Linked DNA regions of Homo sapiens: all the other regions are linked to region 7. The links are contacts of gene promoters, found by promoter capture Hi-C in blood cells and fetal thymus (Javierre and others, 2016). All regions are on one chromosome and are shown on one strand. Each heading gives the region's core, a stretch centred on a gene start or on the middle of the fragment in contact. The rest is flanking DNA. Distances are from core to core; before and after follow the strand shown. Region 1 overlaps FRMPD2 (FERM and PDZ domain containing 2). Region 2 overlaps FRMPD2 (FERM and PDZ domain containing 2). Region 3 overlaps FRMPD2 (FERM and PDZ domain containing 2). Region 4 overlaps FRMPD2 (FERM and PDZ domain containing 2). Region 5 has its middle 5.2 kb from the start of MAPK8. Region 6 holds the start of FRMPD2 (FERM and PDZ domain containing 2). Region 7 holds the start of SYT15 (synaptotagmin 15).

What was found. Contacts are between HindIII fragments. The CHiCAGO score rates a contact against its expected background, and 5 or more counts as called.
Region 1: a contact is called between a fragment that was not itself captured here and the fragment with the promoter of SYT15 in region 7, in 6 of 17 cell types (M1 macrophages, erythroblasts, non-activated CD4 T cells and 3 more). The highest score is 12.3, in M1 macrophages.
Region 2: a fragment that was not itself captured here is called in contact with the fragment with the promoter of SYT15 in region 7 in 6 of 17 cell types (erythroblasts, M0 macrophages, fetal thymus and 3 more); the score reaches 8.3 in erythroblasts.
Region 3: a contact is called between a fragment that was not itself captured here and the fragment with the promoter of SYT15 in region 7, in 5 of 17 cell types (M1 macrophages, M0 macrophages, erythroblasts and 2 more). The highest score is 20.8, in M1 macrophages.
Region 4: a fragment that was not itself captured here is called in contact with the fragment with the promoter of SYT15 in region 7 in 4 of 17 cell types (erythroblasts, M1 macrophages, M0 macrophages and 1 more); the score reaches 14.3 in erythroblasts.
Region 5: a contact is called between a fragment that was not itself captured here and the fragment with the promoter of SYT15 in region 7, in 5 of 17 cell types (M1 macrophages, M0 macrophages, erythroblasts and 2 more). The highest score is 16.4, in M1 macrophages.
Region 6: the fragment with the promoter of FRMPD2 here is called in contact with the fragment with the promoter of SYT15 in region 7 in 4 of 17 cell types (non-activated CD4 T cells, M0 macrophages, monocytes and 1 more); the score reaches 7.5 in non-activated CD4 T cells.

What each region holds. Positions count from the first base shown.
Region 1 is chr10:48,182,342-48,185,317 of GRCh38, forward strand. FRMPD2 (FERM and PDZ domain containing 2) reads right to left here. Exons shown (of 29, transcript NM_001018071.4): 19 at 2,433-2,540; 20 at 2,225-2,341. Among named protein-coding and RNA genes, the nearest start is that of FRMPD2, 91 kb to the right of the region's middle. The HindIII fragment of the contact is 1,014 bases long and covers 1,047-2,060 here.
Region 2 is chr10:48,248,585-48,251,442 of GRCh38, forward strand. FRMPD2 (FERM and PDZ domain containing 2) reads right to left here. Exons shown (of 29, transcript NM_001018071.4): 3 at 437-594. Among named protein-coding and RNA genes, the nearest start is that of FRMPD2, 25 kb to the right of the region's middle. The HindIII fragment of the contact is 3,018 bases long and covers 1-2,858 here.
Region 3 is chr10:48,200,169-48,202,905 of GRCh38, forward strand. It overlaps FRMPD2 (FERM and PDZ domain containing 2), which reads right to left. Exons shown (of 29, transcript NM_001018071.4): 15 at 1,060-1,216. Among named protein-coding and RNA genes, the nearest start is that of FRMPD2, 73 kb to the right of the region's middle. The HindIII fragment of the contact is 8,259 bases long and covers 1-2,737 here.
Region 4 is chr10:48,228,074-48,230,773 of GRCh38, forward strand. All of the region lies in intron 10 of FRMPD2 (FERM and PDZ domain containing 2), which reads right to left. Among named protein-coding and RNA genes, the nearest start is that of FRMPD2, 45 kb to the right of the region's middle. The HindIII fragment of the contact is 2,029 bases long and covers 394-2,422 here.
Region 5 is chr10:48,300,099-48,302,798 of GRCh38, forward strand. No RefSeq gene overlaps it. Among named protein-coding and RNA genes, the nearest start is that of MAPK8, 5.2 kb to the right of the region's middle. The HindIII fragment of the contact is 7,001 bases long and covers 1-2,700 here.
Region 6 is chr10:48,273,121-48,276,066 of GRCh38, forward strand. It overlaps FRMPD2 (FERM and PDZ domain containing 2), which reads right to left and starts at 1,576. Exons shown (of 29, transcript NM_001018071.4): 1 at 1,423-1,576. The coding sequence starts at 1,447. The HindIII fragment of the contact is 27,288 bases long and covers 1-2,946 here.
Region 7 is chr10:46,577,638-46,580,428 of GRCh38, forward strand. It overlaps SYT15 (synaptotagmin 15), which reads left to right and starts at 1,491. Exons shown (of 8, transcript NM_031912.5): 1 at 1,491-1,538; 2 at 2,527-2,731. The coding sequence starts at 1,532. RefSeq lists enhancers at 1,356-2,233, 2,234-2,791. The HindIII fragment of the contact is 10,756 bases long and covers 1-2,791 here.

The DNA.
Region 1 (2,976 bases), core at 304-2,803, 1.6 Mb after region 7:
AAACCATGCTGCAACTGGTGTCCTGCCTAGTAGACATATGAGCTGGGAGACCTTTTTTGGTAAAGGAAACTCAATTTATTGTAGACCATGACAGATGCTCATGATGGACATTTTATCTGTCTGATCCTGATCTCCAATCTAGCCCAGCTGCCTTAACAGCAGCCTAAAGAGATAGAAGAAAGTCATGGTAGTCAAGTCTCTGCCACGGAGACCCAGCCAGCATCACCAAGGAAACATCTTCCTCTGGCAGTGGCCCAGCTATGAGGAAACCCCACCATGATGAAGGCAGCATTGCCAAAAGGTGGCTGGGGTGCCACAGTGAAAGGACATTTTATTCCCAGCCATTGTGGGAAACTCATTGTCTGGAATTCTAATGTGAGGTTGTGGTTTGAGAATAGCAGACCTCGAGTACTGCTTTTTGACAACCTCCATCACAGCAGGCCATCCTTGGACTATGCTGAATTGTGATTTGGTCACCTGCATTGTGTTTCCTGACAACACATGGGATGGTTTGACTGCTCCTGTCAGTGGAGGATGTGGAAGAAAACACAGGGATTGCTGAACCACTGCAGAAAGGAGAGCAGTGGTGCTGGGAAATCCAACAGACAGCAAGCCAGAGACTGGCATTGGAGATGTACTGAGGCCAGTCCCTGAGAAGGCTTCAACCCCAGGATGAAGGGTGTGGGGCTGAGACCCCAGCATGGCCACCTTCCACCACCCATAGCTTCTGGACAGGGGAGCTGCATGGCACTGTGTACAGGTACAAGAGTGAGAGAGCATGCATGCAGAAGTGTTCAGAAGGCAAGGCAAATGCAGTGCCTGCATTTAGTACCTAGAAAATGCTGGCTGGTGTGACAGGAAGTTCTCCTGTATACAAGGGAAAACTGTACAACACCCCTCAAGTGTGAAGAAGCAATCATGAGCCTGAATTTGCAGGCGGTCTGCTGTTAGTTTACAGGATCACCCAACCAAAAAGCAGCATTGGTCTCAGGAAACTAGGGAGAAGGGATGTTAGCCTACTCCCATTACTTCCTCCAGGCTCCTCAAGCTTGGTCCCGATAAAAACAATAGTATTTTCCTTTAATATAGGCAGTTGTTGCTCTCTCATTCTTATCTAAAGGATGAAGAAAAGCATCATCAAAAAGTACTTTACTCTTTAGGTTGATCAGGAACATGCACATCAAGTAAGAAGAGCGAGCTTGCCACGAAAATTCAGCTTTAAGAAAAGGCCAGGTGCAGTGGCTCATGCCTGTAATCCCAGCACTTTGGGAGGCTGAGGCGGGCAGATCACTTGAGTTCAGGAGTTCCAGACCAGCCTGGCCAACATATTGAAACCCCGTCTCTACTAAAAAATACAAAAATTAGCCGGGTGTGGCAGCGCGTGCCTGTAATCCCAGCTACTCAGGAGGCTGAGGCAGGAGAATTGCTTGAACCCAGGAGGTGGAGCCTGCAGAAAGCCAAGATCGTGCCATTGCACTCCATCCTGGGTGAAAGAGTGAGACTCCATCTCAAAAAAAAAAAAGGAAAATCAAATACCGCATGTTCTCATTTACAAGTGGGAGCTAAATAATGAGAACCCATGATCACAAAGAGGGGAACAACACACACCAGAGCCTACTTGAGGGAGGAGGATGGGAGGAGAGAGAGGATCAGGAAAAATAACTATTGGGCACTATGCTGAGCACCTAGGTGATGAAATGGTCTGTATAGCAACCCCTGTGACACGAGTTTGCCTGTAATAACAAACCTACACATGTAGCCCTAAACCCAAAACAAAAGATTAACAAAGAACAGTGCTTGTCTCCTCCCCAGCTGATTGCTATACCTATACAAAATATAGAAATTTTGTATAGGATTCTATACAAAATATAGAAATCCTGGAGCCGACCCTATCAACAAGGACTTTGGGTGGCAATAAAAAGGTCCTCCCTGCCATGCAAGGAGAGTTGACAGAAAAAAAAAGACTGGTTGTATCCAGCCGTGTCTAACAAAATTAGAGTAGGTTACTCCCTTTCAGCAAGACAAGCATGGTAACGCCCATTCTGCCCCTGAAATTGCAAAGCTTATTAATTTGTGCCACTACACTGCTTCTTTGCAAGCCAACACCATGAGGAAAGCAATATAGAAGACCTACGTGGACTTCAAGGTCTAGTACCTCACAGTAATCATGTACTCCTGAAAACAGGGGAGCCTCTTAAGCTCCCAAGAGTGGGTTAAAACATACCTTTTGACTGAGAAATAATTAATTCTATGTTGTCAGGGGAATTCTGGATCATCCTAACAGCCATGTTGAATGTGAAGCCCTCCAGACTGATGTGATTCAGGGCTAGTATCTGCCCTCCTAGAAAAATAAAACATCTCAATAATCCTTCAAGGAAATAAAAAAGAGTGGTTTCTTAAAACAGCATCTCTAGTAATTTAAAAAGATGTACCTGGTTTGATCGTTTTTGCTTTTTCTGCTGGTCCTCCAGGTATAATAGAAGATATAAAAATGCCAGGGTCAGCTTGGCCTGAATACTCTCCCTCATTAATGACAAACCCTGTAATCCAAGATGATAGTCCATGATAAGATGATACTTAGTGATTTTGCTGTTCAGAGAGGTTAGGTTATTTCCCTCATATCACACAGCTACCAAGTGGCATTAGCTGATAGTTACAGTCAGGTCTTCTGATCCTCAAATAGAGGATCTTTTCTACTTTACCATGATACTTGGAGAAAGGTGGATTGTTCCCCATTAGTAAGCACAGCTAAAGCTAGGAATACAAACCACCAATATGCACTGGATTTTGCTCCAGTAGATAATGAGACATAGGAAAGAAATGATTTTTAATCAAGTACCTTGTCTCCGTACCTTGTTTCTTCTACAGTTTTTCGGGTCTTAGAAAGTGGTCACTAGTAAGAGGTGAGATAAATTGACTCTTCTTCCCCATAGCTGACTAGAGGAATGTTGTTACATGGTATTAGGGGAAAAAATC
Region 2 (2,858 bases), core at 172-2,671, 1.7 Mb after region 7:
GCAATACAACAATCAGCATTGCTGCAGCTAAATTTATCTTTACTTGTGCCTTAGAATAAATTCCTAGTTGAGGACGTGTTGGGTCATTTTGAGGTGTCTTGCTACATACTGCCAATGGTAACAATGTGCCAGACCACTTAACCACAGCTTTTCAACACTTCTTTTTGAATATTGATAATAACCTGATCAATTAAGCCACATTAACCCCATTTTACCAATGTAGAAATTGGGGCTCAGAGAAGTGGACTTGCCCTTGTCCATGAGCTAGTAAGTTGTTGACAAGAAATCCTGGGAATAAAACTCTTGAAACCCACTCTGGCTTGGTGTTGAGAACCAAGCTCTGCAAGGCTGAGCTGGGAGCTGGGGAGGCTGCCGCTGGGACAGGCCTTTCCCAGGGCACAGGACTCAGAAGTTGCAGAGTAGCTGCACAGCTTACCTGAGATGCATCAGGCTGCTCATCCTCACTCTGTCCCTGTAGCAGTTCAGGGGCCTTGAAAGGAGCAGCCTCTATATGAGAAACACGGCCTTGGAAAGAAAGGCTTCCAGCTGCAGAAAGCAGGGCTGACCAGGGGCAAACCACATAGTCCGAGGAATCTGAAACCAAGCCAGTGATGGGGCTGTAGAGACAGAGCTTCCATCTGGGGTGCCAGCATGGGACTGTGCCCAGCAGGTGCCTGGCAGTACCCATCTCTGGGACTGAATGTGAGCAAGACCCAGAGGAGACATGGAACAGAATAAATTCAACCCTGATGCATGGGAACATGTATAATAAAAGGTGACTGTGGCCATGGCCAGGAAGTTAGCACCTGCACCTAAATTCATCTGTGGCCCAAGAGTCTCAAGGTAAAAGGTAAAGAGAGGGTCAGGCACACCTGGAATTTAGCACAAGCCTGAGTTCTCTAGAGACAGACCAGGATCCAAGGCAGCTGGTCTTCTGGGAGCTCCGTAGCTGTTCATCAGAACCTCCAGGGTGGGGAAGAGGGAGAAGATGACGCTGAAGGCACAGGTGCACAGCCTCCTCCATAGGCCCATGCTGGGACCCATCGCCCTCACAGAACATGTGTAATGTTTCACTCCAGGAGCCTCTGCTGTATGCACTGAAGCCCCCAAGCACGTGTGACCTGTGAGTTGACACCTGAGTGTGGGTACTCAGCATTTGTTCTGGACCTTAATGCCTAGGAGCCCCATAGTCATCCTTGGATACCGCTACCTTAGGTCTCTCCTGTACTGAGAGCACAGTGTGCAGCTTTCTCATTAGAGGGCTCTGAAGAGACACTATAGGAGGCCTTATTACTGAGAGCACAGTGTGCAGCTTTCTCATTAGAGGGCTCTGAAGAGACACTATAGGAGGCCTTATCTCTCCCACAGTTTCTGGAGTTAGTGCAAGTGTGAGGCCACCTGGAGGTTGGGCTCTGTACAGAACACATGCCCAGGATGTGAGGTCACTTGGCCACCTCAAGGCCGGAACTTGACATGTGACCACCTTCTCAAATCTACACAGGACTCTAGCGGCCCTCCTGCCCACACCAACCTCCAGAGAGGTGACTCGCCCGAGCCCACCTACACCCTAAAGGGTCGCCCCAACCCCCACCTGCAGTGCGTGCTCCCTACCTGGCCACCGGTGGCTATTGCCTGGGCCATGACTGCAGACCACCTCTGGCAGGGCACACCAGCAAATTCTACCATCATCATGGGCTGCAAGCACAGCTCCTCCCACAGATCTGAACCCCAAACAGGGAAGGGGGCTTCCCTTCAAAGTTTATCCCTCACTGGGTACCTGCCCTCAGCCTTAGGAGACCCACTAGCATTTTCTTTTTCTTTTTCTTTTTTTGAGACAGAGTTTCGCGCTCTTGTCACCCAGGCTGGAGTGCAATAGCGCGATCTCAGCTCAGTGCAATCTCTGCCTCCCGGGTTCAAGTGATTCTCCTGCCTCAGCCTCCCAAGTAGCTGGGATTATAAGTGCACGCCACCACGCCCGGCTAATATTTTGTGTGTGTATTTTTAGTAGAAACAGGGTTTCACCATGTTGGCCAGGCTGGTATTGAACTCTTGACCTCAGGTGATCCACCCGCCTCGGTCTCCCAAAGTGCTGGGATTACATGAGTAAGCCACCACACCAGCGTTTTCTTATGCCTTACAGTTGCTCTTCAAACACTGTTTAGTAATTCTTTCTATTAACCTCCCCTGTTTAGAACACAGAGTAGGTCTGCCTTTTTTTTTTTTTTTTTTTTGAGATGAGTCTTGCTCTGTTGCCCAGGCTGGAGGGCAGTGGCACAATCTTGGCTCACTACAACCTCTGCCTCCTGGGTTCAGGAAATTCTCCTGTCTCCGCCTCCCGAGTAGCTGAGATTACAGGCGAGCGCAACCATACCTGGCAAATTTTTTTTTTTGTATTTTTAATAGAGATGGAGTTTCACCATGTTGGCCAGGCTGGTCCCAAACCCCTGACCTCAGGTAATCTGCCCACCTTGGCCTCCCAAAGTGCTGGGATTACAGGTGTGAGCCACCGTGCCCAGCCAGGTCTGCCTTCTGATGGGGCACAGACTAGTGCAACATCTGGTGGACAGAGTGTAGGGGTGTCCTGGGTGACCACACCCTGCCTCTCATCTCTGGTTATGCCCAGAGACAGCCCATGTGCTGTTAGACACCCATAGCACTGCAGCCACTCTCTTCCTAAATCCTCCCAGCTTTGCATGCCTGGAAATGCTGCAACACCAAGGCAGAAGCAAAGCCTTTCTTTTGACTCTGCCACATGGCATGGGTCCAAGAGTCAGGCCTGCCCTCCCAGTGCAGCTCCAAGGATAGGTGCTATTCTTCTACTCATTCTAATACCTCAGAGTAATCACAGATCAAGCAGC
Region 3 (2,737 bases), core at 225-2,724, 1.6 Mb after region 7:
TAAATAAATAAATAAATAAATAAATAAATAAAACAGAGCCAAGCAACCATTTGCTGACTAGAGGTCACACAGGTACTCTGAGTTCCTTGAAGAACCACCCTTCTGTTTAACATTGGGACTTGCAGAGCTCACCTGAACCAACCAATCAGAGCTCACCTGCCTCCTCGAATCAGGGCTCAGCTGTATCAACTAGTCAGAACTGCACCGCATCAACCAATCTGAACTAAGCAAGTTTGAATCTTTCATTTGAATAAATGAACTTGATTGGGAACCTAGGTGGGAGTTTTATCTATAAAAGCCAAACCCTCTCTTTGTTCTCCAGAACACACCTTTGTTTTATACCAAGGTTGTGCCTTCTGGGTTTGCAGACTGTGACAGGAATAAAGTCTTTTTCCTTCGAATTCCTTTTCCAAGAACTTTTGTTCATGATAGGTCTGTGTTGCTAGTGACTCCCACACTGAACAATGCAGGTATTTCCATCATTGAAGAAAGTGTCATTGGACGGTGCTAGCTAGATACAGTCTTAGAACTTCCTTTTCCTCACTTAGCACCCTATCATGTACAGTTTCACATATCATCATTGTCCAAAAACTGATTTTACTGTCTGAATTATATAGATGCTCTTGGTTTATTTATCTGGTCTTCTATGTTTGGATACTTAGATTGCTTTCAAATGGTCACTGTCATAAATGACACCCTAGTAGACATCCATGGGCAGCAACTTTTGTGTATGTCTCTATTGATTATCTTAGGATAAATGTCTATCTACAAGTAAAATTATGGGGCCAAGAGGACGTGCACTTTTTAAGGCTTTTGATGTATATTTCCAATTGCACTCTGAAAAGATCATATCAATTTATCCTCCCAGTGTTATTTATTTTAGTGCTTGCCAACATGAGAAAATAAAACTGTATTTCATTTTTATTGTATTTCTGTCATTATTAGAGAGATTTACAACTCTATTAGAGGTCCCCAGATCAATTGTATCTATTTATACAAATTATTTTATGAAATAACAAACTTGTCAAAGTGTATATGGAGAATACAGCTTCTACTCACCAAATAAAACATGGGAAGGCTGCCCAGAGCCCATCTGTGCATTAAACCCATGCTGGGCTGAGCAGAGGTCCAGTAAGTATTTACTGGTCTTGGCTGAATCTGTGACAAATGTGTGCTTCTTCCCAGTGACACTGCTTGTGATGGTGAACTTTTTTTGCTGAAGGAAGCAAACACAGACTTTAATACACTGATCATCCACAACCCTCCACTGACGCACAACTGCAAGAAAATGCTCGGTCCCTTGGTTCCACACCCTGTAGCAGGCATCCACGGGTGCATGGCAGATGCTGTCTGACTATGGCCTGATATTTTCCTTAGCTTAAAGAAAATCCCTCTTTTTAGTTTTTCCTTCATTCATCAATCAAATTGTTTATCAAACAATAACTATTTTTCAAGGAGTGTGCTGGGTGAGAAGAATATGAAGTGGGTCAGGTATATTGACCTCAGCAAGGACGGAACCTAACCCTCAGTGTGCATTATGACAAGCCACTAAGTATTCCCATTGTTTTTATTGTACAAACTCCAAGAAGTTGTAGACAAAATCTCAACTAGTTGGGTTATGAAAAAGATAAAAACACCTGTGTGTTATAATATTTCTGGCTATAATGTAGCAGGTTCTATTCTAAGTGCTTTATGAGTATGAATTTATTTTATCTTCACAACTACAGAATAAGAGAGATTCTATCAGTATTTTTATTCTACAGATAAAAAAAAAAAGAGCAAGAGTCCTCAAAATGCCACAGGAATTGAGGTCACACCACAAAGAAACGCTTCCCCACATTATACCTTCAAGGCCCACATACAAAGTGATAATATTTGTCCAGCTCACTGGGCTAAACTGGTGAAGATGACCTATATGAGGCTACCTGTATAGAGCCTTATGAAAAAAAAGTACAAATTTTTGCAATATATTATTCTGATAAGAACAATAAAATATATAGGTGATATTAAATATTAATTCATATAAAACTTCCAAATAAAATCTTCATTCTAGATATTCTATCTATTTCAATAAGAACCTTCAGCTTGCTCCTATAAAGGTAACTTTATAGAAACAGGGCTTATGCTTGAAAGGGCTTCCGGAAACCCCTGATCCTCTTTAAGGCTTATCTCTTTTAATTCCTGATAGTCACCATTTCTAAGAAACTCCATTCACGCATGTCAGATATCAACAAAAGGCAGATAAATATTCATTGCTTTTTCTTTGAGAAACCCCTTTTTACCATTAACCTAATTTTAGATAAGTTTCTCATTCTCTGTATACTCTTTACTTTTACTGACAAGTATAGTGCTAAGCCTCCTTGTGCTAATAGGAATGGATTCTGAATCCAATTGAACTGTACTATAACTAATATTTCTTTAAATAATGTGTTGTCTCAAGCATTCATAGATGCTGCTCCGCCAGTCGTAATAATTCTTCTTTAGTACTCAACTGATCATTTCATCCACACTTTTTCAAAGTCGAATATTTGCTTGAAATCCATACACTTTGTCAGTACACACTGATAGGCTTTCATGCAATCCTGACAATTTTATATTAAGTTTATTCAGATATTAAGCATTTTTTATATGAATAAGTCACTCTTTTTTTGAGACAGGGTTTCGCTCTGTCACCCAGGCTGGAGTGCAGTGACACAATCATAGTTCACTGATACCTTGAAGTGCTGGGTTCAAGCAA
Region 4 (2,700 bases), core at 158-2,657, 1.7 Mb after region 7:
AGAGAGTTAAAAAAAGCCATATGTTTTAACTTTTAGGTTCTTTGCTTCTGTGGTATTTTTTAATACTTGCCTGATTTACTAACAATAAAAATAACGTAAGATAATGACTACATTTGTTTCATGTCTTATGGAGTTTTTATAAACAATTCAAACATAATTGTTAAAACCAAGTGAATTAATAAATGTAAATATAAATGAAATAGAGTATAAGTAAGCTTTTCAACAATGATTATGTTTTATAAGATATATCTACTTAAAATGGTTTATAAAATCTTTTTGGTTACTTAAAACATTACAGTTATAGTAAGTTAAATGAAATGATGAATATTCATTTAATAGACCACTTCCAAATAAGATATTATGCTGAAATATTAGTTGTTGAACATAAGTTTAAGCTTATATACTTTTGTCTCCTCATTGTAGAGGAACAAAAGATATTTGGGTCTGTTAATTAAAATGCTCTATTCTACACTGAAAAAATGTGCTATGAGGAAGCATATATTTCTAGGTGTTATAAAATAATGTTTTCACAAATTTGTAAAAGGCAGTTTATGATTGCTTACTTTCTAGTTTTCTGGTTTTCACTAGAAATTAAAGTTACCAAGAGTTTTAAAATTCCAATTACTAAATGTAATTCTGTACACAAAGTGTACAAAAATGTAAGATATGTTTGGGTGAGAAAAGTTAAAAGGAAGATATGAGAATGTGTTTTTATTTGTTGTCGTTTAAAAAAGTAATTTTCTCTAGTTGGAGGCTAGTTGAGGATTGCTTCAAAACAAATAAATAAAGAAAAAAGTGATATCAATAAAACTGAATAAGAACATTATAAATGGTTTGAGAAAATTGCAAAAGGTTTATGGAAGATGAATATTATGAAAGAAATTTTTGTGTGATCAAGATAATTAAAATTAGAAGAAAAGTATTTATTTATGTTTTTCTAAAATTGAGCCTTAATATCAATAGCATACTTGTGCAAAACTATTATTTTGTCTTCTCTGTTAATAAAATACAGTTATATTGCAGTATTAGCCTCTACTGTTAATATTAATATGTTTTTCCTTAACTTTTTAGTAATTGGCCTAGAAAACAAAAATTTTGTGTTTTATCAGAATAGTTTCTTGTGCTCTGTGCTGTATTTTATTAGCTCTTTTATTACTTAAAAAAGTGATCTTCTCAATATTCAAAGAGCTAAGTTTTGACCATTATGTATTTGCCTTTTGAAGAATTTTAATTATCACTCTGGTTAAATGAATGACAATTATTTTACAGTGACCAGTGATTCTACTTTGATCAAGGGTTTTAAACCTTTTGACAGTTTTGACAGCTTCCCAAAATCAAATTCTAAATTGAGTCTTTTTGACCTTGAATTTACTTTGGGTCTTTCCAGCTGGGCCCTTGGAAGCAACAAAGGATATGTCCCTCACCTTGTAAAAGAGGTGTTAAACTAATTGGGTTTATTCAATATGTTAAAATGCATGGGAAACATTATCCAATAATAAGTGGTGCCAAATCTTTAAGTTATATTTATAAATATAGTTTTGATATAAATGTTCCTAAAATTGTACAAAATTGCTAGAATTCCGATATGTCTTAGTATAATATTTGGTTATTATGTTAAAATGATATATGCCATAGAAACAATGAAATTTATCTGTAAATTGCTGGTTATAATAAACTCTCTTCAGATTTTTAACCATGGCCATTCTAAGTCCTTATCATCCATGGAATGTTATGGTGTTGGTACTTTTCTAAACGCATTTGCAATCAGCTACAGTCCAAAAATTGCTTTTTCTTCAAGGAGGTTCACAGAAAGGATGGAAAGAATTCTGACAAGTTACAGGTTTCTGATAACTTCAAGATCAAACCATTGGACTAAGGAAAAATGTCCAGGACACTAAAGAAGAAACAGAGTTTGTGAAACTGCTAACAAAGATCAAGCAGAACAAGAATTAATTACATGAGGCTGAACGAACGGATGAAAAAGAATAATGGGTTTTTATAATTTTTACTTGAAATTTCACTGGTTCTTTAAATGTTTTGTTTTCTAGATTTAAGGAAACTTTTTCCTTGTATGTTATCTATAGTTTACAACAATATAATAAAGTATACTCTTGTGAACAAAATTAAAATATTTGCTTTTTCTCCTTTCCTGATCCAACCAGAATTCTAAAACTATCCATAAGCATTCTTATTTTTATGATAATATAGTTATTTATATAAGTTCAATAAAATATGCTCTCTTTATAACAGGATACAATACTTAAAATTGGTTATATTACTAAGGCTTTGACTTGGATGTCATATTTGAAAATGCACATAAAGTTACTTCAGCCAAACTGAGGTTTGTCTTGATTTGGCCTCCTAGCCTTGAGAGACTTTTAAAAGTCAGGCTGAGATTCTTATCAAAAGTTCTAGCAGAACAAGCTTCAAAGGAGCCTACGTGGTCAACCACTATTCTTGATGCACTTATGCATCAAGGCCAAACTTGATGAGGCTAAACTTACTTAGTAAACAAATTTGTCTTATTGTGATTATCTTTAGTAAAAATGGGGGTAACTGTAGAAAAGAAATTATGCTTCTAAAGGAAGGTGAAAATTGTATTACACCTGTTATCTGACTGTAGCCCTGTTCATTGCTTTTGTGTGTTTCTAATCTACCTGTAGACTGAATTGGACCCTGAATTCTTCTTGCTTCCTTCAG
Region 5 (2,700 bases), core at 41-2,540, 1.7 Mb after region 7:
GCATGATCACGGCTCCCTGCAATTTCAACCTCCTGGGCTCAAGCAATCCTCTCACCTCAGCCTCATGAGTAGCTGGGACTACAGTGTTCACCACCAGGCCTGGCTAATTTTTTTTTTTTTTTTTGTAGAGTTGGAGCCTCACTTTGTGCTTTGTTGCCCAGGCTGGTCTCAAACTCCTGGGCTCAAATGATTTTCCCACCTTGGCCTCCCAAAGTTCTGGGATTACAGGTGTAAGCCACCATGCCCGGCTTCACTTACTTTCCTGTGTAGCTGTCCCTCCTTTAAGAGACCCACACCTTGAAGGGCTATGATACCTCCCTCTGCCTTTTCCCAAGCCCAAAAACCCTACTCACCTCTGCTAGCTTCCCAGACCACGACAAGCCTCAAGCTGGCCAGGCTGACCAGCTATGCCAACCCTCAGCTGAGAGTGAATCCTGTAGGTTTTTGGCAAGAGAAGCAATGCAACCTACCCTCAGAAGTGAAGCTGTCATTGACTGGGAATCTGCTTCAGGAACAGGTTTAAGAAGCCATTGAAAATTCCTTCAAATTGTCTTCTAATCTCCACTTTCCAGAAGCAACAGCACCTTCTCAGGAGCATCAGAGGGCCTCAGGGATCACCTCTGAGTCAGGAACATGAGAATGCCCCAGCAGAGGTCGCTGGCAAGGCTGCGGCAGGGAAACATCACTTGCCCTCTGAGGGGCTCAAAACCCTGCCACCTGCAGAGACTCTTAACTCTCCAGTGATGCCAGAATCTCTTTCTCATTCCCCAATGATGCCACAAAGAGTCTTTTCAAATCTAGCCAAGAATGAGTAGGACTGTTGGCCAAGGTTGGGAATTCACAGGGGTCTCTCTGCCAAAGGGTCATTGGTGGAATGCCTGCCAGTCTAGCATGAGCTCCAGTTTTACATCTGAAGGGTGAGGGTGAAGGCCAGGAGGTAAAGGTGGAGATGGGGTGGAGGGGGCCGGTAATGAAGTGTTGTTTTCTCTCCACAATGGGACCTTGGCACAAGTTCTACAGTGCAGGAGCTATGAAAGGCAAAATTTCACTGGGCTCAAAGAAATTCTTAGCTAATAATTGTAGATGGGGTAGGGTGTTGATGCTAAGAGATCTGGTAAAAAGCTCTCTTCTAAAACATTTATTTATTTAAAACAACAAATATTTTATTTACAGGTTGTATGACTTCAATAATATATTCTTTCTCTCCTATTCAATTTCCTTTATATTTTTTTCACCAGGGGATGAACACTGAATATCTTCAGTTTCTGGGTACTATGGACTGAATTGTGTCTCTGTCTCCTCTAATTTCATATGTTGAAGCCCCAGCTCCCATTGTAATGGCATTAGGAGGTGGGGCCTTTGGGAGGTGATTAGGGTTGGACAAGGTCAGGAGGGTGGGGCCCACATGGTGGAATTACCATCCTCATAAGAAGAGACACCAGAGAGCTCGCTCTCTCTCTCTCTCTCTCTCTCTCTCTCTCTCTCTCTCTCTCTCTCTCTCCCTCCCTCTCCCTCTCACTGTGCCATGTGAGGACACAGCAAGAAGGTGACTGTCTGCAAGCTGAGAAAGGTGACTTCACCAGAACCTGCCCATACTGGCAAACTCCTATCTCAGACTTCCAGCCTTTAGAATTTTGAGAAAATAAATTTCTGTCACTTAAGCCACCTAGTTTATGATATTTTGTGATGGCAGCCCAAGCTAAGGCAGTGGGTGTGGATGGAGAGAGGACAATTTAGCATATGTGTAAGATGTGGGAGGTGGGCAAAACATTGGAAAAAAAGAACCAATAATGAAAGTAAGAATAAAGAATGAAAGCACAAAAGCTAATGGAGAGCAAGATGTTCTGTCCAGTTGCTCTGAGGTTTTAAAAAAACAGAAAATACGCCAAATTTCTTAGGGCACTGGCTTTCATTTTTGGCTACAAATTAAAATTACCTGAGGGGATGTGAAAATAGCTACAGAAGCCTGGGCTCCACCCCAGACCACTGGAGAAGGAGCACCAGACATGGAGCCTGGGTGTGGGTAGTGTTTTGTTTTGTTTTGTTTTCCTTGAGACGGAGTCTTGCTCTGTCACCCAGGCTGGAGTGCAGTGGTGTGATCTTGGCTCACTGCAACCTCCACCTCCCAGGTTCAAGTGATTCTCCTGCCTCAGCCTCTTGAGTAGCTGAGATTACAGGCTTGCGCCACCACGACCAGCTAATTTTTGTATTTTTAATAGCGATGGGGCTTCACCATGTTTGTCAGGCTGGTCTTGAACTCCTGACCTTGTGATCCACCTGCCTCGGCCTCCCGAAGTGCTAGGATTACAGCTGTGAGCCACCACGTTCAGCCGGGTGTGGGCAGTTTTAAAGCCCCTCCCCACCCAGGTGATTAAAATGAGCAGGGTGACTTGTGAGTCAGTGTCCTGCTGCTGGGATTCTCAAACTCAAATGGGCATCAGAAATGCCTTGGGGGGGCTCATTAAAACACAGATTGCTGGGCTTCTTCCTCAAGGTTTCTCACTCAGCCGGTCTAAGGTGAGTATGAGAATTTGCATTTTCGACAAGTTCTCAGCTGATGCTGGTCTGGGGAACCACAATTTGAAAACCATCGTCTTAGAGGAATAAATGCTGACCTTTTTTTTTTCCCATGGAAATATGCATGTGTACTCAATCTATAAACTTGACTAGCTTAGTTGGTTCTCTCTTGCATGTACCTGT
Region 6 (2,946 bases), core at 326-2,825, 1.7 Mb after region 7:
CATATGTATTTGTTTTTGCTCACAGTGCTGGCAGCACCAGCTTGGAGACCTCCCCTTCTCTACATTCCACTGTTGTTTTCTTAGGTTAGGCCATCTGTCATCATTCCAGGTTTCATCCTCTCCAATCCCACACCCATATTGCTACTAGATTAATCTTCTTAATATTAAATGCAGACACGACACATCCTTCATTAAAACTACCAGTGCCTATCTGGGACCTTCTGAGTGAACTCTGGGCCATAGAAGGCCTTCCTTGCTCTCCCCTGTTCACCTCTGCAGCCTCCTTTCTTATCAGATTCCCCTGTTCCCACTTTACTAAAGTTAGGCCAAACTGCCTGCTGTTCCCAGAGCATGCTTTACTTATTCATGCCACTGGGCCTTTGCATGTGCTTTTCTCTGCTTGGGATGCCTTTTCCAATCCCCCTGCTCCCAACTCCTGCTAGTGTTCGCTTAGCATTAAAGCCATGCTCAAGCAACACCTCTCCCAGGAGCCCGTGCCACCTCCATTTCGGCACTTGCTATCACCGCCAGTTTTCATGCAGGTCCAGCATTCTGCCCCCCGACCCCCACTGTCCTACAACCTGGAAGATCCTCTGGGCTGGGGGAGACATCCCCAGCATTTGGCATGTGGCCCCAGGAGATACCAAGTAAGTTCTCGTTGAATTAATGAACTACTTAATTGGTTTCAGCTACAGCCTATAGCAAATCACAGGATTTAGCCAGGAGAAATAGACACGACTCATCTCTGAACTCAATTGTTGCTTTAAAAAAAAAAAAAAGTTGTTTACACTGTTGAAAACCTCAACTGAGTTTTTTCTTTCCTTTAAGCATACAAATAAAGCCAGGTGAATCATTTCTTTTCCATTGTTTTCTGGAAGTCAGCTAGGCATACCCTGAGTCTTCTTACTTTAAACCACTGATACTCTTTAAGCAATAACCAAAACACTTGCTTCTGAAAGATAGTGACAGCCATGATTTACTGGGCTACTCAAATGCTCCAAGTATGTTCTAAGTGCCTTACGCGTGTCACCCCATGAATCCTCAGCAACATCGTAACGCATGGGGCATTATTATCCCCATTTTACAGGTAAGAAAAACGAGTCTTAGGAAAGTTAAAAGAGTCATTTGAATTTGCACAGATGCTGAATAGCAAAGCAGTGATTCAAACAAGGGGTGGTCTGATTCTAAAGTCCATGTTTTCTCTTCTGAGCCCATTCTTTATTGCTAAAAAACAAATACAATGTCTATCAGGCTTAGCCAATGGCCTGGAACAAATAATACTCCAAATAATACCACAAAGGGCACTGACACAGGTCCTTGCCCAGCTGTGTTCTTCTTATTCCGGATACCTAGACCCAGTAAGAAGTTTGCCCTTTCCCTGACCAGATTTATAGGAGAAAACTGAATGATGCCAAGGAATACCTGCGTCCTTCGTTAAAGGCTGCATCCAAAAGTCTCCGTGACCAGGTCTAGGCCTTCATCATGGGACAACTTTCCAACAAGGAGCAGGGGTCTCTTGCAAGTCTGTCCGCGGAGCTCCCTGCCACCAGCACTGTTGCCGCTGTCTTTGTTTACTGCTTGTCACTAAGCACTTGCTGCCCAGCGAGTGAGTCAACAAGGCCCCTTCCCTTTCCTGCCACCACTCTCATTCCCTGGGTCCTGCGCAGTCTCTGGCCTGTTAGCAGGCACTGCCACCCCAGCAGCCTGCGTCCTCAAAGCCAGTGACCCGTGAGAGAGCCAGGAAGAGCTCAAGTGGATTAGGTGCCACTGAAGGCAATGGGATTGCTGCTCAGCAGGGCTTTTACGCTGATGTCTCTTTATCTCCTGGCCCAATCAAAAGAAAGAGCTCTGCAAGGAACTGGGGGCAGCCCCAGAGCAGAGGCTTAGTGTCATCAACTCAAGAGTCCTCCATGCCCTTTCATAGTGTCAGACATTGGACCTGCAACCAACAGGACAGGGAACCATGTGAAAGCAGCAGGAGGAAATGATAACCTGGATCTGTCTGTGAGAAAGCAAGAAAAATGTGGTTAGAGAAAGGGGGAAAGGAATTCTTACTCTTTCTGGTGCTTGGATTCAGAAAGGAACCAGCAGAGATGGGGAACAGCAAGAAGTAGATCATAGCTCTGTAGTAGAAGGGGCAAAAGAACAGATCTCTCAAGCCCTTTAAATCAATAGCAGTGTCAAAACTGAGACGTATTTATTTAAAAAGAAAACATGAGTTTTTGCCTGACTACAGAATAAAATACTAAAATTTGAGGCCGGGCACAGTGGCTCATGCCTGTAATCCCAGCACTTTGGGAGGCCAAGGCGGGCAGATCACGAGGTCAGGAGATCGAGACCATCCTGGCTAACATGGCAAAACCCCGTCTCTACTAAAAATACAAAAAATTAGCTGGGCCTGGAGGCGGGTGCCTGTAGTCCCAGCTACTCCGGAGGCTGAGGCAGAAGAATGGCGTGAACCTGGGAGGCGGAGCTTGCAGTGAGCCAAGATCGGGCCACTGCACTCCAGCCTGGGTGACAGAGCGAGACTCTGTCTCGAAAAAAAAATCTGATGAAACTCAGTGCTGGTGAGGGCATGGAGAATGAGTACTCTCATATGCCAATAGTGAGATTACAGATAAGTGCAACTTCTCTGCAGGGAATTTGGTAATATTCATCAAATTTGTAAATGTACATATCCTTTGTAAACCCAGCTGCTAAGAAGTAACCCCATGGACATTCTTGCAAAAGTTCACCAAAGCATCTGAGAAAGGATGCTCTTTGCAGTGTATTTTGGTAGTAGCAGAAAACTGAAAGCCACTGAAGTGCCCATCAACAGTGATTATTGTAGTTCACACACAGTAGAAAACCAGCTATGCAGCTGTGTAAAGGAAGGAAGTAGATCTGTGTGTGCTGGCATATAACAATTGCCTAGAAAATTCTTTAAGTGACAAAAGGTATGGAATA
Region 7 (2,791 bases), core at 241-2,740:
AGTAGAGCGGAGATCTCGCCAGTTAAGCGCACAGCTGAGGACAGTTACTGGGTGAAGTGGCCTGGGTCTCCGCCTTCTCATGCCCCCACCGCCCAGACCCTAGAAGGGGAGTGGCTGCGGCCTCTGCACCCTGGCGCTGAGGGCTCCCAGACCCGGCCCAGTGGGGCACCCCAGTTCACCACCCTCCTCGCCTTAGGTGAGCCAAAGCCCAGGCAGGGTGGAGCCTCACGCACACTGACTGCCCCCTAGGACAGGCACAGGTGACGCGGGGGTGTGGGACCCAGGCTATGACTCTGGACATAACCTTCAAGGCTGTAAAACGAGAAGGTCCATCCCCCCAAAACACGCACTCCCCCACAACCACCCCCTCCCCCCCCCCACACACACACACTCCCCTGCACCACAGATACACACATTCCTTTCGCTCCCCACTCAGACGCCTCGAGGCCTCGGCGGGGGAACCATAGGGGCGCGACCAGGGCGCGCCGAGGTGTGACCAGAGAGGACACGCAGCGACCTTACTCCCGCCTTTCCCGCAAGGCGCGTTCGCCAGCCTGGACTAGTGGGCACGGGCCCTGCGTTCTAATAATCACCATAATAATAGGCGCTGGGTGTACAGAGGGGACCCAGGCGACGCTGGCCTCCATCCGATAACCACCGTAACAGGGGCTGGGCCGCGCCGCTCCTCCGCTCTAAGTGCTCTTTACATGCTTCTTAAGTTACCGGCAGGCCAGCCGCCCTTACGAGAGCCCCTCACGGACATTAACCCAATTGAGAAGACTGAACCCAGCTTACGAACGTTAAGTTGTCCCAAATCGCAGGGCTGGCGAGTGAGGAGCCTGAATTGGAACCCAGGAGCTTCTGGAACCCGCTCCAGAATTGCGCTCTCGACCGGTTTGTCCGCTGAGAGCGAACGGGTGCGCGAGCGCCGCATCCCTGCCCAAGGCCATCAGGCAGGCAGCGCTGGGGCCGGGGACCCGCGCGGAGACTCCACCCCGGGATCCGGGAAGGCTCCCCCGAGCCGGGGTCGGAGCTGCGGCTGGAGGGGCCTCGGCTTGAGGAGGATCTGGGAGGGCGGGGGCTCAGTCCTGGCCACCAGGTGTGAGGGGTCGGGTGCGGAGCCCTGTGTCAGACGCGGCGGTGAAGGCTGTAGCCCTGCTCTCCGGGATGGGGGTGGTACTCTCACCCCACCCTGCCCCAAGCCGCAGGGAGCCCCTGGCGCCCCTGGCGCCCGGGACCCGCCCTGGCTGGAGCCCTGCGGTTTCCGGGAGCTCACGGTCGGCTCTGCGCCCCTCCACCGCCGGGCCTGGGCCTGGGCCAGGGACGGGCTGGGGCGGGACTGCGGCCTCGGGGCGCTGGGTCCCTGCCCCTGCCGTGCACTGCGCGGCTCCCCGCGCCGCAGCTGGGCACCAGCAGCACCACGGACCGCCCCTGTGCTCGCCCGACGGCGCCCCGCGGCGCTTTAAGAGACGGCCTGGCAGCCCAGCCCCAGCCGCCCAGACCGGCGAGACCAGCCTGCGGGAGCAGCCCCATGGCGGGTAAGCGAGCCTCGCCTCCCCAGCCCAGCCCCGGCCCCTCTGCGACCCTTCCAGCACTTGCCTCCGCCCCGCCGCCCCCGCTGGGGTGCAGCGCCTGCCCTGCCCGGCCTCGGCGCGCTCTTGGAGGGGCACTGGGATGGAGTAGACGCTGAGGCCCGCTCTTCGCGGTCAGTTGCGGCTTAGGAGGTGTGGGGGGTCCGGCCTTCTCACCACCCCACCCAGTGCAGATCCCTGAGACCTGAATGCCCCGCGGCCGCACGTCACCCTAAGGGAGGCACCTTTTTGGCCCGCCCCAGGTGGCCAGCGGTTGGAACCCAGCGTCTGAGCACCCCCGGGGCGAAGCCTCCTAGGTCCCGCAAATGCGGACGTGTGAGGGCCAGCAGCAACGGGGTCTTGCCCCCTTTTCCTCCCCACCTCGTCCACCGCGTCGCACCAACTCCCCTAAGCGCGTGCTCACCTTGATAGAGGGCTAGGGGAGGGAGCGGGTGTTAGAGAAGAGTCCAGCCTTGCAGCAGGTTCCAGGGCCCCAGAGGGTAGAGGTTTGATTGCAGACCAGGGGGAAGGTACCTTTCAGGGCTTTCCTTAACTGACTGCGTCCACACCCCAGCTCCCCTCCTGGCCTCAACAGGAGCCCAGGGGATATGGAGGTTCTGGTGAGGGCAGGTTTGATTTCTACTCAGAAGCGCAAGGAAATGGCTTCTTTAAGCCAGAATCCCAAGGGCAGGGCCAGCTGTTTTCCAAGGAAAACTAGAAGGTTCTGCCCAGGGCTCTCAGACCCTGGGGTAAACGGCTTCTCCTCTGAGAGCTGGCGGAACCTAGCCAGCAGCATCCCTCCCGGAACCCATCCCCAGCAGGCCTGCTCCTATCACTCCTGAGATCAAACCCAGAGGCAGGGTTGCTGCCCTAGTTCTGCCCCAGCAGGCCAGGGCTGTGAGGGAGAGTGGCTTTCCCAGGCAGGCATCATAGTACTGGTGGTCTCTGCCCCCAGAGCAGCTGGCCCTGGTGATTGGGGGCACCATCGGGGGGCTGCTGCTGCTGCTGTTGATCGGGGCAAGCTGCTGTCTGTGGAGAAGGTTCTGTGCCACCCTCACCTATGAGGAGCTGCCTGGGACACCAGCCATGGCCACCACAGCTGCCTCCAGTGGGCAGCGGGACAGGCCCTGCCAGCCGCATGCTAGGACCCAACTGAGCAGGTGAGGCAGGATGTGGGGCCAAGTGCGCCCCTGGAATTTCCCTCAGGGTGGGGTCGAAAA